Linked DNA regions of Homo sapiens: region 1 is linked to region 2. The links are contacts of gene promoters, found by promoter capture Hi-C in blood cells and fetal thymus (Javierre and others, 2016). All regions are on one chromosome and are shown on one strand. The core of a region is centred on a gene start or on the middle of the fragment in contact, and the rest is flanking DNA. Distances in the headings are between cores, read along the strand shown.

What was found. The method cuts DNA at HindIII sites, captures the fragments that hold promoters and counts their contacts. A CHiCAGO score of 5 or more calls a contact.
Region 1: a contact is called between a fragment that was not itself captured here and the fragment with the promoter of MYO7B in region 2, in 1 of 17 cell types (naive B cells). The highest score is 6.0, in naive B cells.

The regions. Positions count from the first base shown.
Region 1 is chr2:127,718,247-127,724,709 of GRCh38, reverse strand. It overlaps WDR33 (WD repeat domain 33), which reads left to right. Exons shown (of 22, transcript NM_018383.5): 11 at 267-377; 12 at 1,363-1,457; 13 at 1,666-1,752; 14 at 1,980-2,119; 15 at 2,722-2,874; 16 at 4,357-5,445. Among named protein-coding and RNA genes, the nearest start is that of SFT2D3, 20 kb to the right of the region's middle. RefSeq lists an enhancer at 2,148-3,347. The HindIII fragment of the contact is 2,078 bases long and covers 406-2,483 here.
Region 2 is chr2:127,532,001-127,539,298 of GRCh38, reverse strand. MYO7B (myosin VIIB) reads right to left here and starts at 3,616. Exons shown (of 48, transcript NM_001393586.1): 1 at 3,468-3,616. RefSeq lists an enhancer at 2,734-3,584. The HindIII fragment of the contact is 11,396 bases long and covers 1-4,519 here.

The DNA.
Region 1 (6,463 bases), core at 195-2,694, 190 kb before region 2:
ATGGAAGTCATTAAGGAGGAATAAAATAGATTTTCTAGTTTCTAAATGCTTGCAGCCTTTTCCCCTGTGAAGTGCTCTTTGGATGAAAGGGTAACTGTCCTTTGGCAATGACAAGCCAATACCCCGAGACATGTGGAATTCACCAGAGTCCAAGTCCAGGCTTTGGTAGCTTCATTTTAAGAGTAACAGAAAATGTCTTTTTTGAGGGGGAGGGAGAAGCTGGGTAACTTTTGTGAACAAATCTTCTCTCTTTGGTGCTGTTGCAGGGTAGAGAAGGAAGTGGGTGGGATGGAGATGGCTCACGAAGGGATGATCTGGAGTCTGGCTTGGCATCCTCTTGGGCATATTCTCTGCTCAGGCTCAAATGACCATACTAGGTAAGCTTTATATTGAAATAGCAAAGCTTTATATGGAGCAACAGGAAATAAATACTGTATGTGTTTATTTTTATTGGTTGATTGATATAGTAATTTATATTCCAACTTATTCTTGGGAATATTTTTGTAGTGGTTTACAAATACTTATATTGCAATAAAGAGATTGGGTATTGAATATGGTTTTGGCTATTCAAATTTTGTTTTGCCTTCTGACTTAAAACAGAAGTTTTCCACTTTTATTTATTTATTTATTTATTTATTTGAGACAGGGTCTCTGTCCAGGCTGGCGTGCAATGGTGCGGTCTCAGCTCACTATAGCCTCAACCTTCCTGGGCTCAGGTGATCCTCCTACCTCAGCCTCCTGAGTAGCTGAGACTATAGGAGCACACCACCACACCTGGCTAATTTTTGCATTTTTTGTAGAGATGGGGTTTCACCATGTTGCCCAGGCTGATGTCAAACTCCTGGGCTTAGGCAATCCTCCTGCCTCAGCCTCCCAAGGTGCTGGGATTACAGGCATGAGCCACCTTGCCCGGCCCCACATTTTATTTTTATTTTTATTATTATTTTAAGAGACAGAGTCTCACTCTGTCACCGAGACTAGAGTTCTGTGGTGAGATCACAGCTCACTGTAGCCTCAAACTCCTGGGCTCAAGCCATCTTCCCGCCTTATCCTCGTGAGTAGCTGAGACTACAGGTGTGTGCCACCACACCCAGCTAACTTTTTAATTTTTATTTTGTAGAGACAGGGTTTCGCTATGTTGCCCAGGCTGGTCTTGGACTCCTGGACTTAATCCTCCTGCCACAGCCTCCCAAAGTGCTGGGATTACAGATGTGAGCCAAAGTGTATGACCTCACATTTTAAATTTGTAGAAGAAACAAATTGTAAAAATGTGTTGTGTTTACCAAGGGTCTGCCTAGTACTGTTTAGTGCCCAAAAAAATAGTGAAGCCATGCTTCTTTTCTCCTTTAATTATTTTTACAGCAAATTCTGGACTCGAAACCGACCAGGTGATAAAATGCGAGATCGATATAATCTAAACCTTTTACCTGGAATGTCTGAAGATGGAGTAGAATATGGTGAGACTCTTGCACATCTGTCCTTCTTTGAAATCTGGTATTCTATTACAGAAGTGTTAGATGTTGGGAAGATTATACAAAATGAATTTTAATTTTATAGTAGATTTATTTATAAATCATCAGTGACATTCATTTTTATAAAGCATTAATTTTATCAGTCGCTACTTTTGTAAATTCTCTATTGACAATGGTGTATTACTATTTATAGATGACCTCGAACCTAATAGCCTGGCAGTAATTCCAGGAATGGGAATACCAGAACAACTAAAATTAGCTATGGAACAAGAACAGATGGGTAAGAGAAGTTACACAGACACATTTAATTTTTACAAATTTTTTCTTGACCCGTTTATGTTCCTGATAAATATATTGAAATACCAAAATGATTTATGTTGAGAAATGTTGATAAAAATTATATAAATGACATAATACTTAAAATCTATTCTTCCAATAATGTGTTCATTGATCAAGTGGCCAATTTCTTTTATTTAAGAGGCAAACCACTTTTCTTTACGGTTACAGGGAAAGATGAATCAAATGAAATTGAAATGACAATTCCAGGTTTAGATTGGGGAATGGAGGAAGTGATGCAAAAGGATCAGAAAAAAGTACCTCAGAAGAAAGTTCCTTATGCAAAACCCATTCCTGCTCAGTTCCAGCAGGTAAGTAAAAGTGACTCCACCTCATCCACGCAGAGAGGTTTTGGTTGGTTAGTTTGAGGTTTCTCTTGGATTATCTCACTGTTGAAGGTGTTTCTGTACTGGAGCATTTTTCCCATGTTCACGTACTCTTAGACATGGTTCTCATCTACTGCTTTGCAGTTGTATTGAGTTTGTTATCAGTCTTCTCTGTTCTGTCCTCACCTGCTTATTATCATCCATGCTATGAGAGGAAATAGAAGAAAGAGGCATGGAGCAGAGGGAGTATGGGAGTATGTTGCTTCTCTTCTCCATTGTTTATCTATCTTGTGCTTTAATTGTCCCCTCAACACAAAGTGCATGTACCCTGTGAAGAGGCTGGCAAGCTTTGCATTCTTAATAACATGCAGTGTCTTGCAGCTTTTATCACCATAGTAATTTCTACCTAGTAATATGTCAGTAAGAATTAGCATGAGTCATGTACTTGAGTCATGGAGAAAAGGTAAAAAGAAATAAAATCGGTTCAGAGGTTAGATTGAGCAGATGACATTGTAGAGTGGTTTTCTCATTCTATCATTGTAATTTTCATACTTAGCGTACATTTTAATATTCTCTTCTTTCCCAAGGCTTGGATGCAAAATAAAGTTCCAATTCCTGCTCCAAATGAGGTGCTGAATGACAGAAAAGAAGACATTAAATTGGAAGAGAAGAAAAAAACACAAGCAGAAATTGAGCAAGAAATGGCTACATTACAATATACTAACCCACAACTTCTGGAGGTGTGTGAAGCTCTGTAGGGGGGAATTCAAGATGATCTAAGAGGGTAGTGGTGACATTTTTATTGATAGGCTCTTAAGGAAAAGGGAAGGGGCTCTCCCATGGTCTGACAAACACCGCCATTTCCTGTTGCTATGCTAGAAGACTAGTTTCCAAAAGAATCCTGTTTCTTAAAATTTTTTAAAATGTGTTATTTATGTATTTTGTTTTATTTATTTTATTTTAGAGACAGAGTCATGCCCTGTCACCCAGGCTGGAATGCAGTGGTGCGATCACGGCTTGCTACAACCTCTGCCTCCCAGGCTCAAGTGATCTTCCCACATTAAGCCTCTTGAGTGGCAGAGACCACAGGCATGCACCATCACGTCTGACTAATTTTTTTTTAAGTGACTTCCTTGAGTCATATCTTGGACTTTTAAAACCCAATTAGGGTCAGGCGTGGTGGCTTACACCTGTAATCCCAGCACTTTGGGAGGCCGAGGCAGACAGATCACCTGAGATCAGGAGTTTGAGACCAGCATGGTCAACATGGTGAAACCCCACCTCTACTGAAAATACAAAAATTAGCTGGGCATGGTGGTGCATGCCTGTGGTCCCAGTGACATGGGCGGCTGAGGCAGGAAAATGGCTTGAACTCCAGAGGCAGAAGTTTCAGTGAGCCGAGATCGTACCACTGCACTCCAGCCTGTGCCACAAAGTGAGACTCTGTCTCAAAAACAACAACAACAACATAAAAAAACTGAATTAGTGGGGCAGTGAGTAGATCTAAGTTAAATATACATTTTTAATAGAAAAGATAAAGCCAACATAGTTTTAATTTGAATTCACCTGTTTATGAAAGAGTTTTTCCTTTTTGTCTGCTCATATAGCAGGTAGCTTGTTCTTATTTTTCTTATCTATGTTAGCTACCAAGAATGATGAATTAGTGGTGAATTATTGGGCTTTCCCTGATCAAGATGGACAAAAATAATCCTGACTAGGCCAGGCACAGTGGCTCACGCCTGTAATCCCAGCACTTTGGGAGGCGAGGCGGGAGGATCAGCTGAACCCAGGAGTTTGAGATCAGCCTGGGCAATATAGCAAGACCCTGTCTCTACAAATAATAATTAGCTGGGTGTGGTGGCATGTGCCTGTAGTCCCAGCTACTCCGGAGGCCGAGGTGGGAGGATCACTTGAGCCCAGGAGGGTGAGGCTGTAGTGAACCACGATCGTACCACTGCATTCCAGCTTGGGGGACAGAAAAAAAAAATAAGGAAAAAAAAATCCTTACTACTGTGTCCCAGGACTTAAAAAGAATGAGAAAGAACCTAAAACTCCTTACAGTGCTTGAGTGTTGCATGGACTCTAATTACCACTGGAGCGTGAAGAGTTTGAGCAGTTTTTATGTTTGAGAGTCCCCTAACAGAATACATGATAGCAATATTGTCATCTTCAAGGGCTCTGGCCTGTTTATTCAACATGCTTTTTTCTTTCTTTCTTTCCAGCAACTTAAAATTGAAAGACTTGCACAGAAACAAGTTGAGCAAATTCAGCCTCCTCCCTCATCTGGCACCCCTCTCCTCGGACCCCAGCCTTTTCCAGGACAAGGTCCAATGTCTCAGATTCCTCAAGGTTTTCAACAGCCCCATCCATCTCAGCAGATGCCAATGAACATGGCTCAAATGGGGCCTCCAGGTCCACAGGGACAGTTTAGGCCTCCTGGACCCCAGGGACAAATGGGACCACAAGGTCCTCCACTGCATCAGGGAGGTGGGGGGCCACAAGGATTCATGGGACCACAGGGGCCCCAGGGCCCGCCCCAGGGGTTGCCACGGCCTCAGGACATGCATGGGCCCCAAGGAATGCAGAGGCATCCTGGACCTCATGGCCCTTTGGGACCTCAAGGGCCACCTGGACCACAAGGTAGTTCTGGTCCTCAAGGTCATATGGGTCCTCAGGGTCCACCTGGCCCACAGGGTCACATAGGCCCCCAAGGCCCGCCTGGCCCTCAGGGTCACTTGGGCCCACAGGGGCCTCCGGGTACTCAAGGTATGCAGGGACCACCTGGTCCCAGAGGAATGCAAGGGCCTCCTCATCCTCATGGGATCCAAGGCGGACCAGGGTCTCAAGGGATCCAAGGTCCTGTGTCTCAGGGACCTCTGATGGGATTGAATCCAAGAGGAATGCAGGGGCCTCCAGGCCCCCGGGAGAACCAGGGTCCTGCTCCCCAAGGGATGATTATGGGCCACCCGCCTCAAGAGATGAGAGGACCTCACCCTCCAGGTGGACTACTGGGACACGGCCCTCAGGAAATGAGAGGTCCTCAGGAGATCCGAGGCATGCAGGGGCCTCCACCCCAAGGATCAATGCTGGGACCTCCCCAGGAATTGCGAGGGCCTCCAGGCTCACAAAGTCAGCAGGGGCCGCCCCAGGGCTCTTTAGGACCTCCACCCCAGGGTGGCATGCAAGGACCCCCCGGACCTCAGGGACAGCAGAACCCAGCAAGAGGGCCACATCCATCTCAAGGGCCAATACCATTCCAGCAACAGAAAACGCCTCTGCTAGGTGATGGGCCCCGGGCCCCCTTCAACCAGGTATTATTCATTTCCAACTCACGGGCACATTGGGAAAATACACTCTGCACAGAAGTAATACTGCTGAGTATTGTGGAAAATGGTCACAGCTGGATATAAATACTTATCAAGTAGTGACAGTAGCTTAAGATACTAGCATCCTGGCTGAAGAATGAAATCATAAGAATGATGAGTTAGGTTATACTCCCATTAAGTACATCTCAGTATTCATTTTTACTTCTCACCATTTTTCTTTTTTTGGTAATAGAGTTTCTTCAGAAAAGGTCAACTCTCATTTGAGTACAGCTGATAATTGTCCCAGGGCTCCAGGAGAGCTGTGGCCCTGAGGAGGAAGCATGTTTTACATGGTGGTCGGCTCTGAGGCTGTCATGCCTCCTTTCTGGGCCCTTTACATTGCAGCCTGGTGTTCCATGGGCCTGCCAGCCACAGAATCACTTCCTGTCTGCCAACTCTACTTTTAAAAGATAGGATGGGATATTTAACTCATGAGTATACTATAGACTCTGTACCTCACTCTGTTTATTACAGTGAATAGAAATAAAGAGACTGTTATTCCAGAATTGAGCATTCTGGAAATGGTGACCCTTTGGATGAAACTCTGCTCAAGTTGTTTTCAGCTCACATATAAAAGTATTTGCAGGGGGGAGCATTTCTGTAGAAATTCTCCTTCTTTGAGGATTCTGTTTTTGTTAGCCAATTTTTATTGCTCATGCGCTGAGCTCGTGCTTGAGAGATGGTGTGAGGAAAGTTCAGGTTGCTTGGGGGAGTGAATTACGAAAAGAATTGCATGAGCATAAATAGATGTAATACTGCTCAGCTATGTGCATTTTATGCTTTTCTCAAGTTCTTAGTCTGGAGGCATTATTTGGGTATGAATAACTGAGTTTTGTCCCTGAAAACTCACTTTTGGTCCAGTGTGGACCAAAAGTGAGCGAGTCAGCTAATGTTGACTCCCTGAGACACTTGGAGAAAGGGGATGCTACAGATGTAGAAAGCACAGTCTGTTTTGGTTTTTCAA
Region 2 (7,298 bases), core at 2,367-4,866:
TACTAACATTTTCCCAGCTGCAGTGTATTTTCCTACCTTCATTTATCCTACGTCCCAGCTTATTTTATTTTTGATTCTGTTGTATTATAGGTATACTGTAAGCTGCCTCATATCACTCTGTTTTGTTTAGTATTTGAATAAGGCAGGCAAGGGATGAAAGAGAAATTGACAGATACATATACTTGTGCATGAACCACTGCCCTGTGGTTCCTTTTCATACCCTCAGTACTCTGCCCCCAGCCCCCAGAACAGAGTAGGAGCTCAGACAGACACTGTGCTGAAAGTTTTCCAGCACCTGCTCATTAGTTTGATCTGTAAAACAACCCTGCAAGGTAAGTGATGCTACTCCATTTGATAGAAGAGGGAACTGAGGCTTAAGGCCCCACATTTGGTAGGTGACTGAGTCAAGATTTCTTGACTCAAGATTTCTGCAGAGCCTGGTGCAGTGGCTCACGCCTGTAATCCCAGCACTTTGGGAGGCTGAGGAAGGTGAATCACATGAGGTCAGGATTTCAAGACCAGCCTGGTCAACATGGTGAAACCCCATCTCTACAAAAATACAAAAATTAGCCGGGCGTGGTGGTGTGCGCCTGTAATCCCAGCTACTCGGGAGGCTGAGGGGGAAGAATTGCTTGAACCTGGGAGGTGGAGGTTGCAGTGAGCCGAGATCATGCCATTGCCCTCCAGCCTGGGCAACAGAGCCAGACTCCATCTCAAAAAAAAAAAAAGAAAGAAACAAGATTTGAATCTGCAAATGTTTGGCTCCAAAGCGTTTGCTTATTCCACTTCACCTCTCTCTTAACCTGATGAGCAAGACCCTCTAGGTTGCACTGTCCGATATGGTAGCCACTAGCCACATGTGGCTATTTAAATTTAAATGAGCTGAATTAAAAATTCAGACCCTCAGTTGCACTAGCCACACTTCAAGTGCTCAACAGCCACTTGTGGCTAGTGGCTACTGTTTTGGACAGTGCAGAAGAGAACATTTCTATCATCATGGAACGTTCTAGAGCATATCTTACCACCCCCCTCAACCGTATTTCATCCCTGCCAGGCGCCAACAGTGCCCAAGCCTTACTGGTACTTCCTTTGCTCTGTATCTTTGCAGCTACCACTTCCTCCACCTGGAACATCCCCCGTTCCCCACCCTCATCCTCACACCATCCTCCCCTCACAGCCTGCTGCATCCCTTCCCACCCCTACCTGTCCTCAGCCCCAGGACCGCCTCCTCTGACCACTCAATGCCGGAGGTCTGTGCCTCTGGTGTACATGGGTCACTTTTCCTTCGCAGCCTCGCCTCCCCAGCTGGCAGTGAAGGAACACACTACACACTGCTGGAAAGGCAGACAACAGAGTCTACAATGACACTGGATTTGAAAACTTGACTTCATCCTGAGCTCGTCTTCTGCCGCTAGCTACTCCATTCATTCATTCAGCATGTGCCAAGTGTCCATTCTCTGCTGAGGCCTGGGCATGTGCAGGAGATGGAAAAACCCCAGAGAAACCCAGCCCAGGCTCTCGAGGAGCTCATAGTCCAGTGGCCTTGGTCAAATCCTTCCTTCTCCTCCTCCTCCTTCTCCTTCTCCTCCCCCTCCTCCTCCTCCTCTTCTTCTTCCTCCTCCTCCTATTCCTTCTTCTTATTCTTCTATAGAGATGGAGTCTCCCCATGTTGTGGGCTCAAGCAATCCTCCCACCTCGGCCTCCCAAAGTGCTGGGATTACAGGCATGAGCCACCACCATGCCCAGTCTCCTTTACCCTTCTTCATCTCTTCTGTGAAAAATGTGCTAAGATTCTGGCTCTTCCTCCCTGAACAGCTTGGTATGTGGACCAAGAATGGGCACACAAACATCATTTAAATACATGTGTTAAGTAAAATGTATGGAGGCCATTGGTTTTGTCTGAGCTCCTACACAAGGCCAACAGACCAGACCAAAATGGAGTCACTCATGCTGAAGTTCCACACCACCAGGCCCAAACGAAGGTTATCTGACCTTCCAAGAATCAGGAGAGAGACAATAGCTGGAGCCCCAGACAGGCCAGTTTCAGCGGGCATGATAAGGAAGTTCCCTCAGCTCTATCCTTTACAAGGAAAATAAATTGAAATGACTAATCCCCTTTTGTTTTCTGTTTCTCTCAGCCCCATTCTGTCTATAAAGCCAAACTCCTCTGCTCGGCTCATCAGATCATTCATTGTATTCTATAAGTGGGGTGTTGCCCAATTCTAGAATTGCAAATAAAAGCCAATTAAGATCTTTAAGATAAATTTTTTATAATTTTGTCTTTTGACATATGTAAAACAGGAAGCAATATCAACACATATAGGTCATCCCTGTGGTGCCGCCTCTCCACAGAGCCCCGTGCTAGAGCTGTGGATGCAGCAGGCCCCAAGACAGCCGCCTGGGGAGGATTCTCTTAGAGGTGGCATCTGAGGACAGACGTAGGGCCCCCAGCAGGTCCAGGGAGATGGGGTGGGCTGATGAGCTGAGTGGTTCCTAACAATGATTCACTGAGGGTGTGTGTGAATCTCTGAACTAAAATCCTAAACAAAGTGCAGGGTTCTGATAAATTAGAGCAAAATTCAAGTCCAGGGTTACAAAGTGGAGCCTGAAGGGGAGGCCTCGTCATGGAGAATTTGGGGGATCTGGGTTGGGGGCCCCACACCCACCAGCTGTCTGACCTGGGCCAGCTCTCACAATCTCTGTGTCTCAAGTTTCGTCCTCTGTGAAATGGGGATGGGACACACACCACCTGGACAGCTCAAGGGGGACAGCCCATGTGAGCCCCGGTGCGGTCCCTCTCCTCAGCCACCTCTTCCCCCACCCCCCCCCCCACCACACCCCAGACCTGTCCTGCCTCTCCCTAGGGTCCCAGCCTTCCAGAGGTGACTAAAGCCAATTGCCCAAGGTACATGGGTAAGGCGGATAAGCCTGGGCTTTGGAGTCGAATCCGGCTCTGCTTCTTCCCGTGGGCACCTTCGCTTCCATGGTCCTCAGTCTCTGTGTCCATAAAATGGAGGCAATTCCACCACTGTGTTGCGAGGACGCAGTGGGATGTCACACACGGCACAGCTGACATCTGGCAGGGGCTCATCATGGGACCCAGGCTATCCATGATGTCCCATGATTCCACAGTGAGGCCCTCTAGCTGTGAGGAGGCTTCAGGGTGGGAGCAGCCTTGGCACCTGCCGTTCCCCTCCTGCAGGGAGTTTGCCCTTCTACAGCAGAGGGCTAGACAGCTTCTCCCCCTCCTCCTCCTCCTCAGCCCCCCAGGTGCTGCCCTTCAGCCCGATGGACTGAGTCCCCTGCTGCGGTTTCTGGTTTCCAGGCTCCTGAAGGGCTTCTCCACTCTCTATCCCTCAGACCTGTTCCATCTTATTTCCAGGGGACCTGCCTCCTGCCCAGCGACCCTCTTCAGAGAGGTGACCCCCTACTCCCCGCTGGCAGACACGCCCCCGGCACGCCCTTACCTTGTCAGGATGGGGGTCTGGCTGACTCCCCTTCCCCTCCACCCTGGGCACCCTGAAAGAGCCAGGAAAGGAGGCAATGTTGGGACTCCGGGTGTGTCAGGGAGTAAGGGACAGAGGAAGAAGAGGTAGGGCTCCAAGAGGAAATGACTGGGAGCACTCTGGGCCCACGTAATTTATTACAGGACTTTGTCCCTGGGCTCCAGGCACTTCCACTCCCACACGCCTCCCTCAGCCCCAGCTGGCAGAGCCTCATGATACCTGCTCTTTAACCCAGGCCCCTTCTGCAGAGCAGCGATGCATGCTGCCCGGAGGCCACCAGGGTTTGCAGTCTGTGCACCTGCTCTGGCCACCAGCCAGATCCCATGGTGACAGTCAGCTGACCATCCGGGGGCTCAGCATCTTCCCAGGTGCTGCATGGCAGGAGCTCTGCCCCCAAGCACCCCAAGCTCTAATTGAGGGTGGTAGTATAATATAAAATACAGTATATTTGGTCCTTGTTCCCGGTTGGTGTCACAGAACTCCTAAAACCCTTAGAATTTCCAAAGTGATCGTCGGGCATGGTGGCTCACGCCTGTAATCCCAGCATTTTGGGAGGCCGAGGCAGGCGGATCACAAGGTCAGGAGATCAAGACCATCCTGGCTAACACGGTGAAACCCCATCTCTACTAAAAACACACACACAAAAAAATTAGCTGGGCGTGGTGGCGGGCGCCTGTAGTCCCAGCTGGAGGTTGAGGAAGGAGAATGGCGTGAACCGGGGAGGTGGAGCTTGCAGTGAGCCAAGATCGGGCCACTGCACTCCAGCCTGGGTGACAGAGCGAGACTCCGTCTCAAACAAACAAACAAACAAAAAATTTCCCAAGTGATCATCTCATAATGAGTCCGTTTGATAACACCTGAAGTTATGCTGAGGAGGTGACCATGTGGGGGCCCTACCTAGCCTCAGCATGGGGTCAGTCACCAGAAAGACCTAGTGAATAGAGGGTTGGAACTTTCAGCCCCGCCTACTGACCTCTGGGAAGGTAAAACTCTTGAACAAGATTTGACAAGCTTCCACACATCTGAGGTCCCTGGGGGGTGGCATGCGGGAGAGGGCATGGAAGCTCCATGACCTTCCCACACAACTCACCTGTGCGTGTTTATTCGGCTGCTCATCTGTAATCCTTTGTAAAATCTTTTCCCACGAACTGGTCAATATGAGTGCCGTCCTGAGTTCCATGAGCTATGCTAGCAAATCCAACCTCAGGTGTGGGGCATGGGAACCCCGATTTATAGCCAATTGGTCAGAAGTATAGGTGGCAACCTAGGACTTGAGACTGCATTTGAAGTGGGGCAGTTTTGTGGGACTGAGCCCTTAACCTGTGGGATCTATGACTCCAGGTTGACAGTGTCTGATTGAATTGAATTATAGGACATCCAGACGGAGTCTGCTGGAGAACTGCTTGGACACCTGGTCAAGAGAGTGTTCTGTGTTGAGTGTGAAAGGAGCATACACCTGGGACATGTCTGGGGCCATCAGGAAGCCTTAGAGACAAAGGCCATCAGACAACAAGGTTCCCAGGAGGGTACCTGGCAACAAATTGGGCAGGCTTGGGCTGGCACTTGATCAAGGGGGATTTGGGCTTAAGGCAAATACAGACTGTTTAGAAGGGAAGTGCAACCGCAGTGGGCCCTGGGTGGGGTCAGACTGGAGGGGCCAGGCAGTCCCTGGAAGTGAGCAGGAGGGCGAGGGGAGCTCATTTATGCAAGGCTTTGAAGGCGGGTGGATAATAGGGGCAGGTAGTTACCTGGTCAGCCACAGGCCTTGTGTTGGGTAAAAAAGGGGTCTGGTCATCCTTACAGTTGGCCCAACTAGAGCCAATCAGATTCCTTTCTTTTCCTTGGACTTGGAGGGACTTGGGAACTGCAGGCAGAAATGTGGGAATGAGCCATCGTCTTTTAGAACTGAGGTCAAGGCAGGGTGGCAACCCTGAACATGGACCTTTCGTGGGGACACAGACCAAGCGGTGGTGGGAGAGAAAAGGAGAGGTGGACAAGCTGCAGAGGTGGAGACCCAGTGGCTCCAGAGACAGGAGGAGACCCCCGATGCCTCAGGGTTTCCTGTGCCTCCTGTGGGTGGGCTCCATGGAGTCCCCAGTTTCCGTCTATTAAATGTTCTCTTTGTTGACATGGCTTGAAGGAGTTTCTGTATCTTAAAACCAAATGGCCCATCCCAAAGACAGGGAACCAAGCTGGGAGATCCCTTGAAGGACCACTTGGAGGGAGCTGCATGTTCCGAGTCTTTCAGGCGGCCCCCTGTCCCGCCTGTTCCCCCTAGAACAGCCCCCCAAGTTCTGCCCTTGCTCTGACTAGCCTCCTGCTCCCTAAAATTTGGTTCGGTTTCTGGGTCCACACTCAGCCTTTTTGAGCTTCATGCTGCACATGGTTTCTCGGGTTTAGAAAGATACCATTTAGCTCCTCTAGGGCTGACGCTGCTGCTCCTGGCAGCTCCCAGAGATGGTGAACCCCTTGCTCTGGGGCTGAGACTGAGTCCTCTTCGGACCTTTTCTACTGCCCTCATGTAAGAAAATATTGGGACAGAAAATCTGTGTGGACCAAAACAATCTGTAAGATGTTCCCATCCAGTTCTCACCTTATGCAAAATTTGACAGAAACACATTTTAGATACTGACCTGCTATTCTCTGTCTCTCTCTATTTTATGTTACACATTATATCACAAGAACTTTCTGACACTGTACCAAACTTTTACCATTGGTCTTTAGAAACAGCGTGACAGTATGTCACACAAGTGCCCCATCATTTGTATACCCATCCTCCCTGGATGGACCCTGGGAGGTACCCAATCCTTTGCTGTCACACACAATACTGCAATGAACATATCTGTGCTCTCAGCGTTGTTTGCATTTTGTCATTATGGAAGATTCCAGTGGGATCTCTGGAAGAAGATCTTCCACTATGGAAGAACAGTGGGCATGAATTTTTGGTTGCTAATATTTCTCAAGTGGCATGCCAAGTCCTCCCTCCCAGTCAAAACTGCGCCTATGATTGCAAGGACCTGGTCTGATTGCTGTGTGAGTTGGTGCAAAGGGGGACACCCTGAGGCATGGTTCTCCTGGAGCCTCAGGCTTTCCATAGCCAAGGGACCCCAAGCCCTGGAAATCAAGAAGATGGGTTGGGGAAAGGCAGGGCAGGCTCTTCCTGGTAACACGGGCGACCAGGCTTGGCTGTCTCCCAGCCCAGTGCTACTTCCACAATTAGCGTAGTGCTCATTTCCCAAGACGCAAATATTCAGCTAACCTTGAAAAACATGTTTGTGAGCTGAGCTGAAATGCGCCCATGGACAACCTATGGTTCATTCCATTCCTGTCAGTGACCAAGCCCATTATAGCGTCATCACAGCGACTGACACAGAGCAAGCCTTTCGCTTCAGCTCTACCAGCATATCATAGAGCTAACTGAAGTCACTTGCTTATGGTGGCCCTAATATTCCCATCTAGGCTACAGCAGCCAAATTATCCATTAACCCTATGAAACAGCAAGGTTGGCAGCACAGACCTCTGCGACTGAACTACTCTTTAGAACATTTTTGAATTCTCAGTCTCAGAAAGAGCTGGCATGTGATAAGGATTTTCTCTGTGCTGGGCTCTTTGCTTGTACCATCTCACTCAACCCTCATCAAACCTCAACAAATGAGGGGTGCTTCTCCTCATTTCATAGCAAGGAAGTTAAAGTCAAAGAGGTTATGAAACTTGCTTAGGCCACACAACCAAAAGTGGCAGAGGTGCGGTTTGAATTAGGGTGTACCTGACCCCATGGCCTGGGCTTATTGG